3 separate regions of the Homo sapiens genome follow, and all the other regions are linked to region 3. Evidence: promoter capture Hi-C in 16 types of primary human blood cells and fetal thymus (Javierre and others, 2016). All regions are on one chromosome and are shown on one strand. The core of a region is centred on a gene start or on the middle of the fragment in contact, and the rest is flanking DNA. Distances in the headings are between cores, read along the strand shown.

Region 1 (3,725 bases), core at 260-2,759, 64 kb after region 3:
ACTTTGGGAGGCCAAGATGGGTGGATCACCTGAGGTTGGGAGTTCGAGACCCGCCTGACCAACATGGTGAAACCCCATCTCTACTAAAAATACAAAAATTAGCCAGGTGTGGTGGTACGTGCCTGAAATCTCAGCTACTCAGGAGGCTGAGGCAGGAGAATCGCTTGAATCCGGGAGGCGGAGGTTGCAGTGAGCCGAGATCGCACCACTGTACTCCAGCCTGGTGACAGAGTGAGACTCTGTCTAAAAAAAAAAAAAGAAGCCAGCACAGGTGAATGACCCTCCCTTAGGACCAAGTGAAGAGAGCAGTTTCCTTCTGAGCTTTGGAGCTGCGTCCTCTAGAGGGAGGGAATTCAGTGGAGCAGCGAAGTTCTTCAAACTGGGGCGAGAGAGGGAAACTAAGGAAGGGTTGTAGGTGTGGCCTGGCCTGGGATCCTTTCTACTCTTGTGCCACTCTAGGGTCCATCCTTCTCCCTCTCCCTATAGGGGAGATGCAGAAGCTGCTCTCTAGAGCCTAGGTCTTCTGCCTGCTTTGGGAGTCCTTCCAGGAGTTTGTAGTTTGTTCCCCTGTCTCTTATTAGCCATTTTTTCAGTAGGTACCTAAGGCCTGGTTCCTTCCTCTTGGTCACTCAGGAGCTCTTCTCCAGACTGGCTAAAGCAGTATGGTTTGGGAAAAGCACTTGGCTGGGTCTCCTACATGTTGAGTTCAATTTCCTCCTTTGGGTGTGTTTTAGCTTCCAGCTGGGATTTTTGCCATAGTAATTATAACAACCACACTCTGCATAGAGACTCTAAAAGCTATATAGGCAAACACATAAATAGAAAGGAATTCCTAAGGCAAGCCAAGTAGTTATCAGAATCTCCACCCCTACCAGAGTCGGAAGCTCTGTACTTGCCTCCTGGTAACTGCTTAGTGAGAATTATTTAGCCAGCTTGGATTCTTTCTACAACCACATTGAAATCAGATATCCTGAGGGAAGGGGAAGGTTTATCCCACCCCAACCCTGTTCCTCTCCAAGCCTTTCTCATCTAGCCAACAGCACTGTCATTCACATGTCTGCTTGAGACAAAAACCTAGAGGTTTGCTTTTATTCTTCCTTGTCCCTCACCTCTCATCTTATCAGCAAAGCTTATTGCCTCTACAAAATGTGCCTGGAGTCTATCTTCTTCTCCTCACTATTGGGTGTCAACTGTGTTCATCTTGGACAATTGCTAACTGATCTCCTTGCTTCCACTGTTGGTTCTTTCTTTCTTTCTTTCATCCTTTCTTCCTTCCCTCCCTCCCTCCTTCCTTCCTTCTTTTCTTTCTTTCTTCCTTTCTTTCCTTTTTTTTTTTTTCCTTTTGATTCAGTCTTGCTCTATTACCCAGGCTGGAGTGCAGTGGCATGATCTCAGCTCACTGCAACTTCTGCCTCCCCAGCTCAAGTGATCCTCCCACCTCAGCCTCCTGAGGAGTTGGGACTACAGGTGCACACCACAATGCCCAGCTAATTTTTGTATTTTTTGTAGAGACAAGGTTTTGCCATGTTGCCCAGGCTGGTCTTGAATTCCTGGGCTCAAGCTCTTCACCCTCCTCGGCCTCCCAAAGTGCTGGGATTACACGCATGAGCCACCGTGCCCAGCATCTGCTTCCACTTTCATACTGCTACGTATCATTCTCCCCATAGCTTCTGGAGCCATCTTTTAAGACAATAAATCCCATCATTGCCTTGCTCACAACCCTTGTTGGCTCTTGCGGCTATGAGGAGAATGAACTCCTACTGAACTTTTGATCATTTCAGACTTCTTCATGGCCCAAGAGGCTTTAATGTGGCTCAGCCTTCCTCTCCAACCACGCTTCTTAGGGCTCTCCCCCTCAGCTACCTGACCGTCTCTGTTCCTCAGTGTGCCAAGCTTGTTCCTGTCTTCAAGCCATGGGATTTGTTGTTGGCTATGCTTAAAATGCTCTATGAAGATTTCCTCATGGCTGACTCCTTGGTATTTAGGCCTGAGTTCAGTTACTATTGCTCCATAGTGAAACACTCCAAAACTCAGTGGCTTCAAAACAACAATCATTTATTTTGCTCATATATCTGTATTTTGGGCAGGGCTTCATGGGGAAGGCTCATTTTGCTCCATGCACCATCAGCTGGGGCAAATCAGCTAACTGAGAATTTGCCTCTGAGTTGGCTCACTCACATGGCAGTCCTCTATGAGTTAAGCAAGGGTTGAAGGCTGGGGCTTTAGCTATTCTCCACGTAGCTAGGCTCCTGGGAATGTGTCCTAAAAGAGTTGGGTAGAGGCTGGGCACGGTGGCTCACGCTTGTAATCCCTACACTTTGGGAAGCTTCAGCTCAGGTGTTCGAGAGCAGCCTGGGCAACATGGTGAAACCCCGTCTCTACAAAAAAAAAATACAAAAATTAGCTGAGCATGGTGACGTGTGCCTGTAATCCCAACTGCTTGGGAGGCTGAGGCATGAGAATTGCTTCAGCCCAGGAAGCAGAGGTTGCAGTGAGCTGAGATCATGCCACTGCATGGCATGGCATGTCATCCAACCTGGACAACAGAGTGAGACTCTGTCTCAAAAAAAACAAAACAAAAGTCAGGTGGAAGCTGTAATGTCTTTTCTGACCTAGCCTTGGGAGTTCTGTTGTATTTTATTAGTTGAGAAGACCAAAAGACCCATGGGAATTCAACTGAAGGGAACACAGAGTCTGCCACTTGAGGGAGTGGCAGGGTTCTGAAACAGCGTGTGGAAATTGAAATATTGTTTTTCTGGATAATTTTTGGGAAATACTATCTGCCACAGCTACTGCCACAGTGCAGTCTTCACTGACTGCTCTCTATGTATTAACCACTCCTCTACACCCCAAACAGCTATTCTCTACCATTTCAACATCTGCTTCCTCATAGCACCTGCCATTCTCTTGTTCCTTGATGTATTTGCTCACTTGCAGCCTTATAGAAGAATATAAGCTCCCTGAGAGCAGAAGTCTTGCATGAAGGGAGACCAGATGGAAGGCTGTTGCACAAAGGTCTGGCAGTTGCAGACAGAAAGGCATTGGCTATTTAGAGACATGTGTAAGGAGGGAGAGGTTGGTATTTAGTGATTGATTGACTATGGGGGATGACAGGATGAAGGTGGACACTGGGTTGCCAGTCCATCTCAGATCGAGGACTGGCATGGGACTGAGGGTATGCATACTTTAGGATTGCCTGGCAAAGGCCACGCTCAGACCTGTCCTACTGGAGGGGTAAGTGGTGCTTACCATATGTGTGGAGAGACTGACTAGATGCTCACCAAAACCCTTTCTTCTCCTTCCTAAGCTTCTAGCTAGGTCACACTTCCTAGCTCTCTTGCAGCTAGATAGGAAATCATATAAAGTTATGGCAAAAAAAATATAAGTAGGAGCTGACATATAGCACTCTGAAGCTTGGCCTATTAAAAACCATCCTGGAAAATTCTTTTTTTTTTGAGACTGAGTTTCGCTGTTGTTGCCCAGGCGGGAGTGTAATGGCTCGATCTTGGCTCACTGCCACCTCCACCTCCTGGGTTCAAGTAATTTTCCTGCCTCAGCCTCCTGAGTAGCTAGGATTACAGGCACACACCACCATGCCCGGCTCATTTTTTGTATTTTTAGTAGAGACGGGGTTTCACCATGTTGGCCAGGGTGGTCTTGAACTCCTGACACCCGGCCCATCCGGTAAGATTCTGCGTGGTGGCCGGGCGTGGTTGCTCTTGCCT
Region 2 (3,881 bases), core at 19-2,518, 96 kb after region 3:
ACAGCTTCAGGACTCCAGGCAGCCTCTCTGGGGGATGCTTCTGCTCAAGTTGCCTAGCCTCTAGAGAAGGTTCCTGGCTCTCTGTCACTGGCCTGGGCCAGCAGTCATTCCTGGCAAGAGGAGTTTGGGGGTGAGGGGTAGGGAGTAGGGAGTAGGAAGGGGAGACTGGTGGCTGGGGGGACAGTGGCAACAATTCTTGTTGGGGTAACATCAGAATTCCTGCCTGGCTTCTTGGAAACCATTCAGGGATCTAAAAGCCTGAAAGTGTTTCTTTTTTTGTTTGTTTGTTTTTTAGAGACAAGGTCTTGCTGCTGCCCAGGCTGGAGTGCAGCGGCACAATCATAGCTCCGCAGCCTCATACTACTGGGCTCCATGGATCCTCCCAAGTAGTTGGGATTATAGGCATGAGCTACCAAGCCCGGCCAGTGCCTAATTTTTAAATTCTTTGTAGAGATGGTGGGGGGCGGGGAGGGGGTGGTCTCGTTATGTTGCCCAGGCTGGTCTCAAACTCCTGGCCTCAAGTTATCCTCCCGTTTCTGCCGCTCAAAATGCTGGGATAACAGGCATGAGCCACCGCACCCAGCCATGTGTTTTAGGTGCAGGATGTGTGGGATGAGGGCTTCCCTAGAGTAAACCATTTGTTTTCAAACTTGAGTTTGCATCCGGATCACCTGGAGGCCTTCGTAAGACAGACTGCTGGCTCCACCCTAGAGTTGCTGATTCAGTGGGGCTGAGGTGGGGTTGAGAGTTTGCATTTCTAACAAGGTCCTAGGTGCTGCTGATGATTTGGGTTCCACACTTTGAAAATCACAGCCCTAGACTTCATTTGGGATCTCCAAGCCCTCTCTATAGTTTCAAATGTCATGGTATCTGTCCCCAGCCCCACTCTCTGGACATCCTCCATCAGTCACTGGTCTTTGTGTTGATCACCTTTCTCCGCTTTTGAAAAGGCAGTTTGGTCTTGTCTTGTGCTGCCTGTGCTCTCTGGTTCTGGAAGCAGGAAACAGCTCTCAGGGTGATTCAGCCATGGGAAGAGCAGCATCCCTCATACCCCACCCTCATTCTTGCACCCAGCCAGGCAGGACAGCTCCCTTCTATTTGCTGCCATCCCTCACCCTCTATAATTGCTTGAGTCCTAGCCCTGGGTTAAGCTAAAAAGAATAGACAGCTGAGGAAAGATCCCTTTAATAGGCACCTTAGTATCCATGCAAGGCCAAGCCTAGAGGGGTTGCTGTTGCATTTCTCCCAGTGACAAGATCTCTGAAGTGATCCTTCTTTTTTTACCTTGTGCTTTGCACATCATAGCTATTTATGAACTATTTGTTGATTGACTAATTGCTTAGGGAAAACTATAAGGAAGGGAAACAAAGCAAAATAAAGATATTCTTCAAGGCTGCCATGCACTAGGACAAAGTTTTGTTTGTTTTTTTTGAGGAGTCTTGCTCTGTCACCCAGGCTGGAGTGCAGTGGTGCCATCTCGGCTCACTGCAACCTCCACCTCTTAGGCTCAAGCCATTCTCCTGCTTCAGCCTCCCAAGTAGCTGGGACTACAGGCATGCACCACCATGCCTGGCCATTTTTTTTTTTTTCATTTTTAGTAGAGACTAGGTTTCACCATGTTGACCAGGCTGGTATTGAACTCCTGACCTCAGATGATCTGTCTGCCTCAGTCTCCCAAAATGCTGGGATTATAGGCATGAGCCACTACACCTGGACTAGGACAAAGTTTTCATCAGTGTTTGCCAGCTTGACTGAAGGGGTAGAGTTTATCCTCTTTGGCCTCCAGAAAATGTGTCAGAAGCTCCTGGGTGGGAACCCTGAAGCACAGGCCTGTGGGCAGGGGCAAGCAAGATCAGTGTAATTCGGGTTTTTTTGGGGGGGCTTTGAGACTACCCTGGCAAGCTGGAGACCCTGGAAAAGAAGGGGCTGGTGGTCTATAGGGGCCTGAGGGTCAGCTGAGGCCATGCGGAGCCATCCTATGTTCTGGTGCCTCAGGATTTCCAGAAAGGCAAGTTTTTTACAAAAGGAACTTAACATAACATTTATGTCAAGAAGTTTAGAAAATGTCAAATGTGAATAATCATGGCATTTGAAATTTGGACTAGGGTATGTACAATTTAGATGAAAATAAGCCATGTGCAAACCATTAGATTTTAATAATTTTTCTCTTCATTGGATATTTTGAAGCTATATCTTTAGCAAATGGCTAAATTGGCTGTAGGTTCCCTATTTAGTTATTGCCATGGTTCTTTTTTTGTGGGGGACAGAGTCTCACTCTGTTGCCCAGGCTGGAGTGCAGTGGTGTGATCTCGGCTCACTACAACCTCTGCCCCCCGAGTTCAAGCAATTCTCCTGTCTCAGCCTTCTGAGTATCTGGGACTACAGACATGTGCCACCATGCCCGGCTAATGTTTGTATATTTAGTAGAGACAGGGTTTCACCATGTTGGCTAGGCTGGTCTCAAACTCCTGACCTCAGGTGATCTGCCTGCCTCAGCCTCCCAAAGTGCTGTGATTACAGGCATGAGCCACTGCTCCTGGCTGTGGTTCTTAACCTTAGCTGTACATTGGAATCACCAGCATTGCTTAAAAAAATAATCTCAATACCCTGGCTACACCCAAGACATGGAGGTAAGACACAATATTTTTTTTTTTTTTTTTTTTCGAGATGGAGTCTCCCTCTGTTGCCTAGGCTGGAGTGCAGTGGCGCGATCTCGGCTCACTGCAAGCTCTGCCTCCCGGGTTCATGCCATTCTCCTGCCTCAGCCTCCCAAGTAGCTGGGACTACAGGCGCCCACCACCACACTCGGCTAATTTTTTGTATTTTTAGTAGAGATGGGGTTTCATGGTGTTAGCCACGATGGTCTCGATCTCCTGACCTCGTGATCCACCTGCCTCGGCCTCCCAAAGTGCTGGGATTACAGGCGTGAGCCACCGCGCCCAGCCAAGGCACAATAGGTTTTTAAAGCCCCTGAGGCAATTTTGTAGTGCAGCTAGGATCAAAAATCCTTGAGCTATTGATTGAGTGGTTGGACAGGCTAGACTGAAACAAATGACTTCCTGGGGTGTCTGCTTAGCCTCTCATGAGTGCCATGACTGCCCTCTTCCCACAAGGAGCGACCATCAGAAGCTACCAGCAGACCCTCTTCCTCAGCTCCAGTTGACAGGACTGGGGTGTATCTCCAGGACAGTACCTGACCCAGGATACCAATCAGCTTTCTCACACAGGAAGATTGAATTGACACTCAGAAATTATAGCTGTCGCTGGAGCTCCTCTCTCAAATGGAGCAGAGGAGAGACCTGACCAGAGCAGCAGGAAAAGTTGGTTCTTGCCATCACCTCAGCTCCTGTTGCAGCATAGCCCTTCAGGGAGTCTGGCTACCACCCTGCCTGGGTCTCCAGGGGTCACTCATGAATCCTTATAAAAACACCCCCCACCCCAGCCACCCGTTTGGTTTAAAGCCAGCTCTAGTGGGTTTATGTTACTTGTGACCAAAGAGGCCTGCCGTGTGCACAGACAACAGCCCATCAAAAGCACATAAAAACAAATATGTATTCACTTCCCCCACCACAGTTACACCCAAGCTCTTTCTCATTCCATGTGGTCCCAACGGAAGACTGTTTGGAATCTGCATTTTCTGGAGGCCACCTGGAGAAACCTGTTTTCAATTCAATTGAGAACTGCAGTGATTCCCTAATGTGGCTCCACAGGCTTCTTCAGAATCACCTGGAGGAACTACAGATACACACAGATTGCCAAGCGCCATCTCCAGAGGCAGAAGCTGTTTAGTTTGAAGATGATCTTGAAATCTGTGTTTTAAAAACTTTTTTCCATGAAATTTTGATGTGCAGTTGATTCTACTGGGATCAGGCTGGTTGGGT
Region 3 (4,100 bases), core at 80-2,579:
AAAATAAGTACTCATTTAATTATCATGACTTCACCAGACAGTCACACTGCCCACAATGATGTTTACAAAAGCACTTGTCACTCCCTTTGGATGTAGCAATGCAGAAAAAAGAGTCTGTTTCCATACTCTTCGTGTGTTTATAACTCTGTAACAAGTGGCAGAGTTCAAGTGTCACTTGAGATGAAACAGCAAAGCACTTCAAGTTTACGTCCCACCATCTTTCATCCTAAGCGAATCCCGAATTTGCTCGGTTTCATTTCAGCAGTAATTCCCACTCAGTACCTGAGACAGGGTTCCAATTCAGCCCTGCGGGAAGAGACTGCAGGATTCTAGTAAGGGACTATAGGATTCTATTTTGGCCACTGCGAGGTTAACAGGCTCCAATATTAAGCAACTCCAGTATCGGTTACTGCAACACCAGAGCAGATCGGAAATAAATGTGCCCCCAAACGCACGCCAGCAGCCAGGAATTAGCAATAGCTAACACGAGATGCTGCAGCAGGGGTATCATTTACTTAGCACTTGTTCAGTTATGCCTAACCTCACAACAACCTTATGGTGTATGTATTATTATTTCCATTTAACACATCAGGATATTTTGGCCCAAGGCCCCAGGACTGGTCAGCAGCGGCGTTGGGATTCGAAAACATGTCCATAACCTAATAACCCTGGGTCCACGCCTCTGAAATACACTTCTGCGCAAAAAGGCACCTGAGGGTCGGGAAGTTCCGGAGGTGTCCGCATAGACGCGGGGCGCGAGTACGCCGTCTCTCCACAGAAACGCCCCTCAGGAACGGGACCCAAAGCGACAGTGACCCGGGACGCCCGGCAGCGTCTCTGCCGCCCAGGGGCCGGGGGGCGCCACTCACCTTGGAGAGCCCAGGGCGGGCCGCAACCAAGCCAGACGCCCCCACCGGCCGGTAGGCGGTTATCCTCCAAGCTGGCAGGAAGCGCGGTGCAACCACAAGAGTCGCCAGCGCCGCAGGTAGCGGCAAGCTAGAACGCACCGCCAGCACGCCCGGGGGCACCGCAGCCGGCGCCGCGACCCAGCCGCCCCTCAGCCGCGCCGCATCCGGGTCCCGGCCGCCGCACTCACCTGCCTGGCGTTCCGCCGCCGCCGCCTGCTACTATTCCAAGTGCGCAGTCAGCAGCCCAGGCCGCCGCAACCGCTCCACTCCGGCGCCCCCATCCCTGCCTCTCTCGATCACCTCCCGCCTGCCCCGCGCAGCACTACACTCGCCCCCTCCCCACTGCCATGGCCCGCTCCGCCGCAGCGCCGCACAGGCCGACAGAGCACGCGCGCGCCGCCGCCGAACCCGCGCCCGTGTGCGCGCGCGCCAGCCTCTCAGGCCTGCATCCCAGCAGCCCCCGCCCCGCCCTGCGCCGCCCTCGGGCCAATCCCGGGCCCCGCGGTGGCGGCGGCGGCGGCGGCGGCAGTTGGGCTGGCAGGGTGTGGGGAGAGGCCTCACTGCCGATTCCTCTACCGTTGCCAGCCCGGCTGCGACGCTGCTGCACGGCCTTTCCTAACTCTCTTTGCGACTCCCAGAGGACTGCGGAATAGGGAATCCCCGGCAAGTCGCCTTCAGGAGAGACCCATCACCCGCTGCGGCCTCCATAACCTCCTCCCGAGAGATTCCGCTCTTCCTAGGTTCCTTGCTGGCCTTTTCTTCCCAGCCCTTCTCCCTGTTCTGCGACATGGACTGACTCCTAAATTCTTGGACGCAGCACTTATTTTTTTCCCGATACCCGTCTCCGTCTTTCACTCCCTTTGTGAGGATAGGGCGCTAGCTCGGCTGCCTCACAGCTGGCCCTTCAGTCCCTACACTGTGAATGGTTGTTTCTAGGGAAAAGTCCAGGCTTTCAAGCCCAAGATTCTTGTTCTTTGTTCAATTTTGCAGTAACAACACCTAACATTTGTCTGCAGAGCCTTAAACTTTACCCCTTTTTGCCTACCTTGTTTCCTGTTACCTTTGACCCCAACCGCGAAAAATCACAGTCCTCTTTCTAGTGGGACACTTAAATTTTACTTACTGAAAACCAACATTTTAACTCACTCCAAAGCTAGTATATTCTAACGTAATGCTCCTATATTACCCTGGACAAATAGTTGAGTAGTCAGGGATAAAATCTAGAAGTACAACATAATAAAAAGCAAACGTGACAAATCAATTAAGTGACAAACCAATAGTTTATTTGAGAAATGATCCTAGTTTTTTTATTTTTTATTTATTTACTTATTTTGAATGAGAGTTTCGCTACTGTTGCCCAGGCTGGAGTGCAATGGCGCGATCTTGGCTCACCGCAACTCTGCGTCCCCCGGTCAAGCGATTCTCCTGCCTCAGCCTTCCTGAGGATTACAGGCATGCGCCACCACGCCTGGCTAATTTTGTATTTTTAGTAGAGACGGGGTTTCTCCACGTTGGTCAGGCTGGTCTCGAACTCCCGACCTCAGGTGATCAGCCCGCCTCGGCCTCCCAAAGGGCTGGGATTACAGACATGAGCCACCGTGCCCGGCCAATGATCCTGGTTTTAATTGACTTTCGATTTAAAGCAAGAACATTGAAAAATAAATTCCAGAAGAGGCTGTAATACCAACACTTTGGGAGGCCGAGGTGGGCAGATCACTTGAGCCCAGGAGTTCACACCTAGCCTGGGCAATATGGCGAGACTGACAAAAATGACGTGAGTGTGGTGATGTGCATCTGTTGTCCCAGCTACTTGGGAGACTGAGGTGGGAGGATAATATGAACCCAGGAAGTCGAGGGAAGTCGAGGCTGGTGTGAGTCGAGATAGCACGGTAGCACCACTGCACTCCAGCCCGGGAAATAGAGCAAGACCCTGTCTAGGAAAAAAAAAAAAAATCCAGAAGAATTAAAAAATATAAAAATTTACAAAACAGAAACTTAAGAGGAAAAAAAAATTTTTTTTTGAGACAGTCTCATTCTGTTGCCCAGGCTGGAGTGCAGTGGCACCATCTCAGCTCATGGCAACCTCCACCTCCCAGGTTCAAGCAGTTCTCTTGCCTCAACCTCCAGAGTAGCTGGGATTACAGGCACCCGCCACCACACACGCCTAATTTTTTTTTTCTTTTTTTGAGACGGAGTCTTGCTCTGTCGTCAGGCTGTAGTACAGTGGCACAATCTCGGCTCACTGCAACCTCCGCCTCCTGAATTCAAGGGATTCCCCTGCCTCAGCCTCCCAAGTAGCTGGGACTGCAGGCGCGCACCACCATGCCCGGCTAATTTTTTGTTTTTTAGTAGAGACGGGATTTCCCTGTGTTGGCCGGGATGGTCTCCATCTCTTGACTTCGTGATCTGCCCGCCTCAGCCTCCCAAAAGTGATGTGATTACTGGCCAATGAGGCAGAAATTTTAAGCAAGACAGGAAGCCCAGAACCATTATAGAAAAAAGAAAAATATTTGCCTACATAAATATTTTGAAGGTTTTGCATGACCTCACAGTGATAAGTTTTGAAAAAGAAAAAACACAATAAGTTGGGAATGATGGCTCACACCTGTAATCCCAACACTTTGGGAGGCCGAGGCGGGTGGATCACCTGAGGCCGGGAGTTTGAGACCAAGCCTGGCCAATATGGTGAAACTTTGTCTCTACTAAAAATACAAAAATTAGCTGGGCGTGGTGGTGCGGGCCTGTGATCCCAGCTACTCTGGAGGCTGGGGTGGGAGAATCGCTTGAACCCAGGAGGCAGAGGTTGCAGTGAGCTGAGATTACGCCATTGTACTCCAGCCTGGACAACAGAGCAAGACTCTGTCTCAAAAATAAATAAATAAATAAATAATAGAAATGCATGGCCGGGTGCTGTGGCTCACTCCTGTAATCCCAGCACTTTGGGAGGCCAAAGCGGGCAGATCACCTGAGGTCAGGAGTTCAAGACCAGCCTGACCAATATGGTGAAACCCCGTCTCTACTAAAAATACAAAAATTATCCGGCCATGGTGGCGGGCATTTGTAGTGCCAACTACTCGGGAGGCTGAGACAGAATTGCTTGAACCTGGGAGACGAAGTTTGCAGTGAGCTGAGATAGTGCCACTGCACTCCAGCCTGGGTGACAGAGCTAGACTCCATCTCAAAAACAGAAAA

Evidence for each region. Contacts are between HindIII fragments. The CHiCAGO score rates a contact against its expected background, and 5 or more counts as called.
Region 1: a contact is called between a fragment that was not itself captured here and the fragment with the promoter of PIK3CB in region 3, in 4 of 17 cell types (neutrophils, endothelial precursors, monocytes and 1 more). The highest score is 7.8, in neutrophils.
Region 2: a fragment that was not itself captured here is called in contact with the fragment with the promoter of PIK3CB in region 3 in 1 of 17 cell types (neutrophils); the score reaches 5.3 in neutrophils.

Annotation. Positions count from the first base shown.
Region 1 is chr3:138,897,717-138,901,441 of GRCh38, forward strand. It overlaps LOC124906289 (a long non-coding RNA gene), which reads right to left. Exons shown (of 2, transcript XR_007096114.1): 2 at 2,039-2,378. Among named protein-coding and RNA genes, the nearest start is that of LINC01391, 44 kb to the right of the region's middle. The HindIII fragment of the contact is 764 bases long and covers 1,128-1,891 here.
Region 2 is chr3:138,929,788-138,933,668 of GRCh38, forward strand. No RefSeq gene overlaps it. Among named protein-coding and RNA genes, the nearest start is that of LINC01391, 12 kb to the right of the region's middle. The HindIII fragment of the contact is 6,746 bases long and covers 1-3,881 here.
Region 3 is chr3:138,833,599-138,837,698 of GRCh38, forward strand. It overlaps PIK3CB (phosphatidylinositol-4,5-bisphosphate 3-kinase catalytic subunit beta), which reads right to left and starts at 1,330. Exons shown (of 24, transcript NM_006219.3): 1 at 1,097-1,330. RefSeq lists a silencer at 827-1,566. The HindIII fragment of the contact is 25,969 bases long and covers 1-4,100 here.